Regions from separate parts of the Homo sapiens genome. Here region 1 is linked to region 2. Evidence: promoter capture Hi-C in 16 types of primary human blood cells and fetal thymus (Javierre and others, 2016). All regions are on one chromosome and are shown on one strand. The core of a region is centred on a gene start or on the middle of the fragment in contact, and the rest is flanking DNA. Distances in the headings are between cores, read along the strand shown. Region 1 holds the start of CA1 (carbonic anhydrase 1). Region 2 has its middle 72 kb from the start of PSKH2.

Region 1 (6,683 bases), core at 4,102-6,601, 620 kb before region 2:
CATCTCACAGCATCCCACTCCATCCTGATGGGGCCGTGAATCTTCCCTTTGTCCATCATATCGCCTCTGTACATGCTGCCCTCCCCTTAGTCACTTAGTAGTCTTCTCAGTTATCAGATTTTCTGTTGCCATGTTGCAGTGCTTGTGTTCAAGTAACCCTTATTTTACTTCATAATGGCCCCAAAGCCCAAGACTTGTGATGCTGGTAATTTGGATATGCCAAAGAGAAGCCATCAGTCCTTCCTTTAAGTGAAAATTTGAAAGCTCTTGGCTTAATAAGGAGAGGAAAAAAGTCATATACTGAGGTTGCTAAGATCTACGGTAAGAACAAATCTTCTATCCAGGTAATTGTGAAGGAGGAAAAAGAAATTCGTGCTAGTGTTGGTGTTGCAACTCAAACTGTAAAAGTTACAGCTACAGTGCAAGATGGGTGTTTCGTTAAGACGGAAAAGACATTAAATGGGTGGGTGGAAGACATGAATAGAAAACATGTTTTGATAACCACCAGTTGCACCAGAAAGCACTGAGCATCTGCGAAGACTTCAGCAAGCAAGAAATGAGTTGACACCACGCCGCAAAGGGCTGGTTACACTGATTCAGAAATACAGAAGGTCAGTAGCAGCCTATGGCTACATCACAATGCTTACATCATTCACCTCTTGTCATCTCATCACAGAGGCATCACAGCATCTCCCATGACAAGAAAGGTGAGTACAGTACAATGCAATATTTTGAGAGAGAGAGAGAGACTACATTCACATAACTTTTATTATGATATATTGTTATAGTTGTTCTATTTTATTATTAGTTATTGTTGTTAATCTCTTCCTATTCCTAATTTATAATTTAAACTTTATCATAGATGTGTTTGTATAAGGAAAAAAACATAGTGTTTATAGGGTTCGGTACTAGCCATGGTTTCAGGTATTGTCTTGTAACGTATCCTCACAGATAAGGGGGACTACTGTATATACAAGGGAATATTATTCAGCCTTAAAAAGAAATGATACATGCTACAATATGGAGGAAGATTGAAGACACTATGCTAAGTGAAATAAGCCATATACAAAGGGACAAATACTGTGTGATTCCACTTATATGGGATAACTAGAATAGTCAAATTTATAGAGCTAGAAAATAGAGTAATTGCTGCCAGAGCTCGGGGGAGGAAGGAGTGGGGAGTTATTGTTTAATGAATATGGAGTTTCAGTTTGGAAAGATGAAAAAGTTCTGGAGATGATGCGCGATGGGGGTTGCACAGCAACGTCAATGTACTTAATGCCACAGACCTGTATACCTTAAAATGTTTAAAGTAGTAAATTTAATTTTACCACAAAAAGAATACAAAATTAATAATAAAATTAGTGACAAAAGTGAATATCTATTTAGAACAAGAAAATGATTTATAATAAATCAAATATTTTACAAAGTTAAATATCAAAAATATCACAAAATCTAAAAAACAATATTTCATATTCAGCCACTGCCAGACACAATCCTCTAAGAGCTTTTATCTATATTTTAATTTCATAATTCTGGATTATCTCTTCATATAGCAAAAATTTTATATTATTTTCTGTAGAGAGAATAGAAAGATATTTCAGTCTTATTTCAAGCATGGTTGATTAAAATTTTTGTTTGTTCTTATTAATACTGGGATTCATAAAACTTCACACACATTTGAAGTACTGCTATAGGTTTGTGTCTTAATACACAGGATTCTTTAATTTTGTACTATTTTCATCAAAAAAATTTTGTAACATATGATGTGGTTTTAATCGTACGTAAGACATTATCAGATACATTCCTGAGAGAACCTGTCTTAACTAGGTTTTCTGGTCAAATTCTAAAACCAAATTCTCTGCCTGCAGCTTTACACACTGGATGATTGAAATTATTTTCCCTCGATTAGCTCTGTCTCTGTGCATTTCACCATCTGTTTCTCTTCAATAACCTACAAATTTCTGAACCTGGGAGCCATTAGGAAGCACACTTTCACTTTTCAATATGACTTCTGGCCCTGCATATTTGTTTTGGCATAGTGGATGCTACCCTGAATGGCTAGCAATAAATTATCAATATACAGAAATGACTGATACCCACATAAATATGACCCACTAAAGCCAAACTAAAATTATTCTCAACTCAACTTTCCCCATTTGGGTCTCAAAAATGCCCACAGCCCCTCCAATACCACCTGATACAGGAAATATGATGCCGTACAGTCAGAGTAAAATGATAATGGGGTTGACTGATTGTGGTTAAATATCTTTTGCAAATTTTATATAAAACATATGATTGTGTGAACACATTTCTTGTGCCCTTCTGGGATCTTGGAAGTAAATCAAGCAATGAATGGTCTTACAGCTTAAGCATCATTATTTTTACAATATTGCCACCTCTGCCTAAGTCTGTCTCACTCCAACATTTTTGCTTCTCTCCACTGTGCTATTCCACCTTAGATAATTGTAAAACATTAGGACAAGGGCAATGAGAGAAACCTAATTAGACAGGAAGGACACACTAAAGAAAGACACATGAAACAGCCTGGAAAGAAGGCTTCGGAGGGAAGAACTCACCTATCGCATGCTGGCCTGTCCTGGCATTGCACTGTTTTATTTTATGTATTTTGTTACCACTTTCAGAAAATTAACAGCACAGCTCTGCCCAACTAGCACATCTAATGCCATGTGCCACCCACCCGCCCTACACTGACCAGTGGTGCCATAAAATACCTGTTTTTTTCCTTTTCTTTTGAAAAAAAAAAAAGATTAGAACAAATAGAAAGATTAGAACAAATGTTGGCATGATAGAAACAAGGAATAAAATAGGCAGAAACATCCCAAGGGAAGATCTACATGCTCTAAATGAGTTTGTGTCTCTTGGAGAGGAATAAAATCCAGAGCACGGAGAAAGTTCAGATAAGATGGATGAACCTCAAAATAACTCGAGGTGCAGTGAAGACTCAGGCAGAACAACTGTATCCTGGCACATGCTATCCCAAATTTCAAAAATAGAATGGTGGATGTAGGTGAGCTATAGATCATGAGCTTGATGCAAATGTAGGTAATATTCTGAGATACAGTATTCAGTAGATAGTGTTAATCACGTAGGGAATGGTCAATAAAATGACAAAAGGATTCTTGATATTGAACTGGATATAAAACATGTAAAAAGCAAGTTGACTCCAATCAGGCAATAAAGAGATTGAATTCAGTCGAGTAGTGAATAATATCCTATAGAGGGAATTTCAACTATCAAATTACACAGTTATAAGTTATAAAAGAAGCTGGGCATGGTGGCTCATGCCTTTAATCCCAGTACTTTGGAAGGTCCAAGCTGGTGGATCGCTTGAGGTTAGGAGTTCAGGACCAGCCTGGCCAACATGGCGAAACCCCATCTCTACTAAAAATACAAAAATTGGCCGGGTGTGGTAGCGCATACTTGTAATCCCAGCTACTCGGGAGGCTGAGACACGAGAATTGCTTGAACCGGGAGGCAGAGGTTGCAGTGAGCAGAGATCATGCCACTACACTCCAGCCTGGGTGACAGAGTGAGATTCTGTCTCAAAAAAACAAAAAAGTTATAAAAGAGGTAACTTTAAAAATTGGGTAAGGGGGCCGGGCACGGTGCCTCACACCTATAATCCCAGCACTTTGGGAGGCCGAGGTAGGCGGATCATCAGAGGTCAAGAGATTGAGACAATCCTGGCCAACATGGTGAAACCCTGTCTCTACTAAAAATACAAAAATTAGACGGGCGTGGTGGCACATGCCTGTAGTCCCAGGTACTCCGGAGACTGAGGCAAGAGAATTGCTTGAACCCAGGAGGCAGAGGTTACAGTGAGCTGAGATCACACCACTGCACTCCAGCCTGGTGACAGAGAAATTGTCTCAAAAATAAATAAATAAATAAATAAATAAATAAATAAATAAATAAATAAATAAAACTAGGTAAGGGTACACATGATATACTAGACTGCATGAAACAGTGTGAATTTGGAAAGCTCTGTTACCTCAAGGAGATGCCCAGCAGATTGACTTTCGGGTCGTGTAGAGGCACCCTGGGCATGTGTGGTACCTAATTAGGTCCCTGACCCTCTCTCAAATTCTTTAACTGACACTTCAACCCTGGCCTTGATTCTCTGATACAGTATCCTCAGCCCAATCAGATCATACATCTATCTATTCTCTTTATTTGCATAAGTGGATTTACAATACTGGGAGAAGAGAGAAATAACTATAAGAATGTTGAAGTTAGTCAAATCCACAATATTAACACATTTGTATTAACTTTAGAAATTTAATTATTTAATCCTTGAGATAACCTATGAAAGATTGTTTGTTAAGTTACTTGAAGCATTTAATATAACCTGATATATTAGAAAATCAGATATATGAACCATATAATTTCAATTTTAAAGTACAAGAGCATTTTCTTCAGTCTATACACAGTGTTTGAATGTTTAAGAGAACATAACTTACTACTGCATAAATTTGGTTTATTACTTTTACTGGAATTGCTTTAATTATTAGAGCCCCCTCCCTCCTTTTATAAACTTGCAAGATGTATAAAAGATACTAATGTGTCAGGCATTTGAAATGCTTGAGAGATTCAGGTAGACTAAATTTGTAATTGATATAATATATAATATTTAAAGGAACTTAATTAACCAAGTCTATCAATTGCATTATTTGTTTAGGGGAATTAACGTCAAATTGAACATTAGTCATGGAATAATTTTAAATGGTAATTTATATTGGCTGGGCACAGTGGCTCACGCCTCTAGTCCCAGCACTTTGGGAGGCTGAGGAGGGCAGATCACCTGAGGTCAGTAGTTCGAGACCAGCCTTGCAAACATGGTGAAATCCCCTCTACTAAAAATACAGTAATTAGCCAGGTGTGGTGGCATGTGCCTGTAATCCCAGCTACTCGGGAGGCTGAGGCAGGAGAATCACTTGAACCTGGGAGGCAGAGGTTGCAGTTAGCAGAGATGGTGCCACTGCACTCCAGCCTAGGCTGCCAAGTGAGACTCTGTCTCAAAAAAAAAAAAGGTAATTTATATTATCCTTTTCAGATTTACAGATTTACAGAGATCTGCTTGATAAATATAAAAGGTTTAGAAAAACTATAAAGGTTTTTTAAGCTTTGCAGCTTTCATTCATTGAATAGTAATTAAGATGTAGGTAGGACTGTATTTTACAAGATTTAAAGATTCTTTTGGCAGTCGGATAAAACACTTCAATGCTCAGCTAGATGAAAGGCAGAAGTCTTTGTTACTTACAGCTCTGAATGAGAGAAGGCTGCCACAGAGGACCACGCAGGGGGTTGCACCTGAGGACTGGGTACCACAGGCTGGAGGGGGAATGGGCAGCTTATGTACAGCAAAAAGGGTGGGGTTAGCTAGGTTGAATAATTTTGAATAATTTGCATAATTTTGGCGGGCTTTGGGGCATGGGCGCTGTCCTTAATTGTCTGATGTCTGGCCCTGTGGTGATTAGAGTGGGTACATAGTGGCCCCAGAGTGTGAGAACCTGATAAGGGAAGTGGTTGGGGTGTGGATTTAATCAGCTGCTCAAGAGAGGAAACTGACCAGCCTCTAGCCAAGGCCTCCATACTAGGTCAAGACAGCACAATAATCAATAAAAATACCATATATGAAATATATTTAGTCACTGATTCCTTTATATCTTGATGTCGATTTTGAACTCAATTATTTGGGGTGTTTGAGTGGCCTGAATAGTAGAGGAGACTTCTACAGAATAGGGCCTAAGTTGCACTAAACAGCATAGAAAACATTTTATTATGACAATAACAAGGAAGAAACCAAGTAGAAATGTGACAAGTCCCTGAAGGCTGACTCGTAACCAGGCTCCCATTTGTTTGGCGTTGGCCAGGAGAATACATCAGTCATGGCAAGGGCCTTTAGTCATATTTTGACTGGATTTCAGAGTGTGTTAAATATGTAAGGCATGTTTTTTTAGGGTGATGGTTTTCTGATCCAGGCTTTCTGTTAGAATGACCTCTTGATTGGTGGTGTTAACCCACCTACAACAAGAAGCTCTAATAATGTTACAAACACCTCTTTGACTAGTTAATATATAATCAAGGACAAATTTACTGTCAAAAAACATTTTTGCCAAAGCTCCCTGGTTTAGCAGGACTAATATTTGCTGTAACTTAGAAATATGATATACTAGAGTTTTGGACATTTGTAGGGTAGCATCAATTATTTTTGACTGTTGGGCTAAAGCAATGGTCCTTGTGGCCATCGCAGCAAGTCCCAGAGCAGTGGTGAGTCCCAGTATTATAGGTACAAATGTGGCACATCAATGACATTTGGCTGGGTAGGGAAAGAATAATTAACATTTATATAAATAGGAATGCCAAGAGAGGCCAGAATGCATCTCGTGGCTTCCAGTTTCAGAGTAATGGAAGGGCAAAGGAGAGGGGATAAACACCCTTGTTGGTTGGGACACAATATAGTTTTGTGGCATTACCATTAGACTGGAAAATTGTACCTTGATTTAGGTAAAGGGAAATTACTAAAGAATGGGACTGGAGGAAGACAGTGGCTTTTGTTGGGCATATGGTGAGAATATGCAGTTGTTCATTGGGTAGCCCATCTGTGGTATGTATTGAGGAAATACGAGTGCAGTTGCCACTTGCCATGAGGGGGCACC
Region 2 (7,277 bases), core at 4,754-7,253:
AGTATTTTAAAACATAAATAAAACTTCTTTTAAGTTTGCAGTTGGTATGTGGAGACAAGCAACATTAACTAAGATCAATTTATGGTGTTATTTCTCAACCAATTAGAAAGAGAATTTTCTAGTTCTAAGACATATTCCTATAGGAATATTCCTTACAGTTCTTCTGTTTAGTCAATAGAAAAAAAACACTTAAAGGTCCTCAAGCTATTATTCTTCCTAGTCTCGATTCATTTGGCAGCCCATTAAAATATAATTTCATGGTGAGATTTATAATAGTATAAATATATCCGTAGTTTTTATATTCTCTAAACTGTGATTTTCCCTTGCACTCTGCCCCTGAAAACTGTTTAAACTCTCTGTGAATACTTAGAAAATTTGTTCTTACATGGGTAAATGACTTCATAAGAGAGAAAACAGCTTGGTTGGAAACAATAGGGTAATTTTGGTTTGGGTTAATAATAAGAGAAACTTAAACTTCTAGAAAATTCAGGTCATTAATGATCCGAAGTATCACTAAAACATACTAGAGACTAATTTGTGTTCCACAAATCTGTATTCTTTCCAACAACTTCAGAGCTGGGATTGTATTTCTCCCTGGCCTCACAATGCGTCACCGTAGCCTTGACTACAACAGAGCCATTGATTCAGAATACAAAGAGAGAATAGGGACTGTCCCTGAACAAGAGATGCCCTGTGACTCTCCTGGACCTGAGCAAATTCAGACTTTACCATAAATTCTATGCTATTTTACATTCAATCTGACAGAGTTCCTTGCAGTAAATAATTCAAGATTCATCAATTTAAAGTACAGATTGTTTACCAAAAATATCAACTTATAAAAACAAGCCTTCGATGAGTTCAGCATATACTCTTTTATGTTGGATGACATGATGACACATTAGGTAACACAGAAAAATATTTTGATATGTATTTAGAAACTAAATAGAGATAAAAAAAAAAGACCCAGAAAATTAGAAACTAGGCATGAATTCCCACCATGTTTCTGAGTTTCATCTATTGGTTTTGCACTAGATTTTTTTTTTTTTTTTTTTTTTTTTTTTTTAGACAGAGTCTCACTCTGTCGCCCAGGCTGGAGTGCAGTGGCGCAATCTCAGCTCACTGCAAGTTGCACCTCCCGGGTTCATGCCATTCTCCTGCCTTAGCCTCCTGAGTAGGTGGGACTACAGGTGCCCGCCACCATGCCCGACTAATTTTTTGTATTTTTAGTAGAGATGGGGTTCACTGTGTTAGCCAGGATGGTCTCGATCTCCTGACCTTGTGATCCACCTGCCTCAGCCTCCCAAAGTGCTGGGATTACAGGCATGAGCCACCGCGCCCGGCTGTACTAGATTCTTTCATATTTATGGATTTCTAGGATCTGGAATTGAAAATCATTAAATACCATATTTTATTCTGAAATAAATATTAATGATCTTTTCAACAATATTATTACATCAAAAAGAATTTCTGATGTATACAGATATGCTAAGATAAATGTATATTGGTGTCTGCTCACTGTAAAATTCTTCATCTCTTTTTCAAACACCAATAGCCAGAAGTTGAGCTTGATGTCTTCATGTCATTTTATAAACCACTGTGATTATTATCTTTTATCATTACTAAATCTCCATTTTAGTAAAATCCGAATTCTCTGCCCTTCAAAAAGAAAAATGTTATACACGGAGCAGAAATCATTATATTACTGGCTAGAGCCTTAATAGTCTGGTTTCAGAAAAACAGACCAAGATGAATGCAGAACTCAGTAAAAGATTGGCTTGCACTTTCAATGACTCCTCATCACCCCTAGACAAAGGCTAAATGCTTGGGCATGGCGTTCAAGTACACCAGCAATTTGCACCCTGCTCCTTCAGCACATTCACTCCCACCAAGTGCTTTTAAATATAAAACACCCCAGATTGCTCATTTTTTTAAAATCCAACATTCACTCACTAAAAAAATAGTTGTTATGATGTCTTTAATATGTGTCAGGCACTTTTTCAGTACTAGAAATACATCAGTGAACAAAACAGGAAAAAAATGCCTGCTACTGTGAACCTTGATTTTTTTTTTTTTAAGACAGAGTTTCACTCTTGTTGCCCAGGCTGGAGTGCAATGGTGATCTCAGCTCACCACAACCTCCGCCTCCTGGGCTCAAGCAATTCTCCTGCTTCAGCCTCCCGAGTAGCTGGGATTACAGGCATGCACTATCACGCCCAGCTAATTTTGTATTTTTAGTAGAGACGGGGTTTCATCATGTTGGCTAGGATAGTCTCGATCTCTTGACCTCGTGATCCACCTGCCTTGGCCTCCCAAAGTGCTGGGATTATAGGCGTAAGCCACTGTGCCCGGCCGAAACTTACATTTTAATGGAGGAGAGAGAGAAAGAGAGAACAAGTAAATAAATGATTATAACATTCTTTTCAATCAGCACTTTTCTCTTAAAGCTATTTTTAAAAGATAATTATCCCCCAAATTCATAACTTTTATGTTTATATAAAATGAACACATTACAGATTTTATTCATTTAACTCAATCAATGAGGATACCAGGTAGGTGTCATTGCCATTTGAAAAGAGAATCTAAAGAACAGACTCATTTATAAATCAGGAGTATTTAAATGAATGTGAAAATAGAGGCAAACCTGATTTTTCCAAAAGGGTTGAGAGGTAGGGAAGTCAACTGAATCTTTACCAGAAAAATTGAATTTGCATATCTATGGACAAAATTTATTTGCATTTTAGCGGGTTGAATAATAGAAGCCCAATAACAGATGTCCACATCTTAATTCCTAGACCCTGTGAATGTTAACTCATTTGGAAAAATGCTTTTTGAAGCTGTAATTAGGTTAAGGATTTTAATTTGAAGAGATCATCCTCTATTACCAAGCTGAGGTCTGAATCCAATGACAAATATTTTTATAAGACACCCACAGTGGAGATTTGGCAGCAGACGTGGGGAAGGCAATGTGATCACAGAAGCAGGTGTTGGAGAGGTGCAGCCACAAGCCAAGGAATGCCTGGAGCCACCAGAAGCTGGAAGAGGCAAGAAATGGAAGCTCCCTTAGAGTCTTCAGAGGAAGTGGAGCTCTGATGACACCTTGATTTCAAACTTCTGGCTCCAGAACTATGACAGAATCAATTTCTATTGTTTTATGCCACAAAGTTACAGCAGCCTGTGGAAGCTAGCACACATTGCTATCAGTTACCCACAACTTACAGAACTGTAAAATAGCTCTCATAGAATCAGGTAGCCAGGAGGGGTAATCTGTAGATAATGTGTAGTTTCCATTGATGCACAATTTCCCCCTATGTACCTTAATAGCTTTTCCCAGACCTTCTCTACCTGTCAGAACTCTATGTATCCTTTAAAGCTAACTTCAAATGCCAGCAATGGCTGGTTGACTGAATGATGGACAGAGACAGGGTCTCACTCTCTTGCCCAGGCTGGAGTGTGGTGGCATGATCGTAGCTCCCTGAAGGCTTGAACCCCTGTGCTTAACTGATCCTCCCATTTCAACATCCCAAAACACACCTGGCTAATATATATATATATATGTATTTTAGAGAAAGGGTCTCACTATAATGCCCAAGCTGGTATTGAACTCCTAGCCTCAAATAATTCTCCTGTGTTGGCCTCCCAAACTGCTGGAATTACAGGTGTGAACTACCATGTCCAGCTTATTTATTAATTTCTATTACATATATATTGGTGCCTCCAACTAGGATGGAACGCCTTGTCAATAACTCCTTTTGGCATTTATGGCACACCCTCTACATGTGCTTCCCAGGATGCTGTAGTAACCTAGCAGGGCACCATACACATAGGAAGTACTCATGGAGTTGAGCTGGAGAGAGCTGTGACCTATGATGACCAAGGGGAAAACTGGATGACTTCTGGTAATAACTGAACTTTCTTTCTCCAAGCTTGGCATGCTGAAGCTTAGTGTTATAAAATGGATCTCATATCCAAAGATTCTGGTTCCATAAAAGTATTTGCCCCACATCTAGCTAAAGGTTAAAAAAAAATCAACATCTAAGATAGGATGTTAGAAGGGTGACTTAAGAATAACTTTCTCTGTATCTTTCTGAGGATTCATTGGCAGCAAACTAATGGGCCTTGCACTCATGATTTTTTTCCTTCCAACACGCATGCCAAGTGTTTTATATATGACTAGAGTCTTTAAAAAGGCCTCTGGAATCTTAATTCAAACTTGCTGTAGTTCACATATTTGCTCAAGCCTGGATTTCTAAGGGTCTACATCCATTCCAAGCATCAGTTCTTTAACAGTGTCAGTCCCATTGTCATAAATAAATCAATTAATTCTAATGGAAAAGGTGTGATTAATTTAAAATGTAACTATATGCTAAACTAGAGCTCAGGTAAGATTGGCTGAGCTCCTGAAAAGTGACAATAGCATCTTCTAGTTTCCATTTCTGGGTTCCACTTTGGATGCCAATTCTATTACAAGAATTTTAACATCAAGATCTTATCTGCCCATCATCTTTGCTGCACTTTCAGCTTCTCTACAACTCTGGGGTTTCTGGGAACTGCTGAGGATGTCTACATGCATCTTCAAATCATTTTGGAGCTGGGCTCACCTCTCATCACTAGTGATCAGTGCTTGGCTCTGCTGAGCTACCACAGTCTTATCAATGCTTCATTCCAGGCTGCCACTTGCCTATGCTGCCATTTTTGCTCAATGCTCAGCTCTGAGCCAAAGTTTGTCTGCTGCAATATGGTGGCTTATGCTGTCACTGCAGAGCCATCTAAACTTGTGGTTCCAGAACTACTTAGAAATTAGTTGCAAATGAAAAGCTGAAAGCCTTTCTCTCCTCCATTGCATCTATAAAAAAAAGAGTCCCACAACAGGACTCTGAGGAGCCACAGAATTACACTCAAATCTTTCATTCCATAGACACCTCTCCACCAGGCTGGTTTTAGGTAATGGCCTATATGTGGTGCTAAGGATGCTCATCAGTGCTCATCAGTGCTCATCAATGCTCAGGTCTTATTTATGCCATGGCTAAACTACTTCCCTTAGGATGACTTCTCTCCTAGGCTACCCCTTGAAATTTAAATGCTGCCTCTCCCCATCTCAGTCCTCTCATTTCTTAAGATAAGGCTATATATTCTTGAAACTCATTTGTAGACACAGTTCAACTTTTTTTCCCAGGAAACTCTTAGGTCCAATGTTGAATGGTGGTTGCAAATAGATGCCTGAGCAACAGAGGTCTTACCTTATTCTAACAACAGATATTTCCAAATGTCAGGCCCTTCTTAGCTAGGACAAACCCTGCCCACCCCCACCATCTCACTCTCTCTCTCTCTCACACACACACACAGACACACACACATGCACATACACCTTCACATAGAAAATTAACCTTTCCTCATGGGGCACTAGGGTAACTAAGATTATGTGATGTCTGATAAGTCATTACCAAACCTTTCTTTCAACTAAATGAAACGAAACATTCAAATTGGAATTACTGTGCAAATTTTATATACTTTAAACTGATTTGAAATATTAATTTTACTAAACCATTAGTTTTACTGATGTAAACTTTTATTTTTAACCTTCTAGGAAACACATTTGAACCAAAATGATACATATTATCTTTATTTTGCAGCTGAGGAAGATTGAGGTTTAGTCCATCTATGGGGCACCTTCTTCCACCGCACTGCAATTTCCTTGAGGGCAGATATTTAATCTGTTTCTGGCACCCTGCAAAGGGCAGGCCACATAGTTTAAAAAAGTATGTTGAACTGAACTAAAAGGAGTTGGATGATTTTTCTAAAATTGCACAGTCAGAAAACAGCACAGCTGGGACTAGAATACAATTTTGGGTCCAGCTTTCTTTAATATATATCTAACAAAAAGGTGTCTATAGTTTTGCATTCTGTGACCATATTACCGTGCTTATTTCTTTCTTCCCAGGAACTATACTTAACCTTTTAGATCAAATATGAGCAGCCCCTCAAGACCACTGGACCCTCCTCCCTGGCCTGCATATTTGGTGTAACTGCATCCAATTTCTTCAGCCTAAATAAACAAAAATCCTTATTAGGTCCTTTACTTTTTTCACAATCTTACTTTACTTCTTTATCTGCATTTGAATGAACTAAATAAGCTCATTACCTTGTTTCCTTTCCTTTCCTCATATTAATTCTTTCTCAAACTCACCTTTCTTAAGAACCAGCTTCAGTCACCTTAAGATTTCCAGAGTCAGTTGCATAATACTGAGTACAGTATTCCTGCACTCCAGTCTATCAAAAGCCCCTTTCCCTTGAGTGATTCCTATCCTTTCTCTGTGCCTTGCCTGCAACCCATTCCGATTAGAAACCCAGTGGACAGAGAATGTGCGTAATGCTACGTTCACTTCAGAAGCCAGCATGAAATTGAACAGTACTGTCAGTAGCAGCTATGACCATATTAACATTCAGAATCTTAATTAACTAGAAGACAATTTCATTAACACAGTTATATTAAACGCTCTTAGGATATGTTTACCTCATTTTAATTATTGCTAAAGTAATGGGCACCAGTGAGAAGCTGATACAATAGTGAAAGCCTCAGGAAAAATTCTCCGGAGCAATCTTCAAGGTGCTCTTATGCTTCAGAACACATAATCTTTATTGTTGCTAAATCATTTCTATACTGGAAGTAACTGCTATTAAGTAGTCAAAGCAATATGTTACACATATTCTCATGTTTTAGAGACCATCTATGAATGGGTAAATATGCACGTTGGGTGTGTAGATAATTCAACACAGAAATTCTATTATTAATGGGAATTATGCACTGCCTTCTATATGACACCAAAAACCTACCTCTAAAAACCTAATTATTACTTACTGCCTTCTCTTTATATGAAATAGTAAAACAATCATTAATGACTCATAAGCCTCAGATTTTCACCATGAAATTCTTGTGCAATGTTACAAATGTCCCTGGACAGGTTGTGTTTTGTAGCTAATGCTAATAGAGGACAGGAGGCTATGGACAGTACATCCTTGAATTGCCTCTGAAAATAAAACTGTTCTTTTTTGTATACAAACACATCTCTATCTGAAATATACTTTTCCTTATATATCAAGAATTGACATAAAAGGGTCATTTCTGGAATACTCCATGCACAATTTTTTTATTTTCTGTATAGTAACTAAAATCCTAATCAATCAAACAATTTTTCCTAAGTTTGTAATAGCAGAATAAAGTCATAGTATTTAAATTTTGTTATTATTAAATAATTATGGGTCATCCATGCCTATAAAAA

What was found. The method cuts DNA at HindIII sites, captures the fragments that hold promoters and counts their contacts. A CHiCAGO score of 5 or more calls a contact.
Region 1: the fragment with the promoter of CA1 here is called in contact with a fragment that was not itself captured in region 2 in 16 of 17 cell types (M2 macrophages, total B cells, naive B cells and 13 more); the score reaches 10.1 in M2 macrophages.

The regions. Positions count from the first base shown.
Region 1 is chr8:85,372,762-85,379,444 of GRCh38, forward strand. CA1 (carbonic anhydrase 1) reads right to left here and starts at 5,352. Exons shown (of 8, transcript NM_001128831.4): 1 at 5,285-5,352. RefSeq lists a promoter at 5,380-6,171. The HindIII fragment of the contact is 5,896 bases long and covers 5,145-6,683 here.
Region 2 is chr8:85,993,571-86,000,847 of GRCh38, forward strand. No RefSeq gene overlaps it. Among named protein-coding and RNA genes, the nearest start is that of PSKH2, 72 kb to the right of the region's middle. The HindIII fragment of the contact is 4,134 bases long and covers 3,937-7,277 here.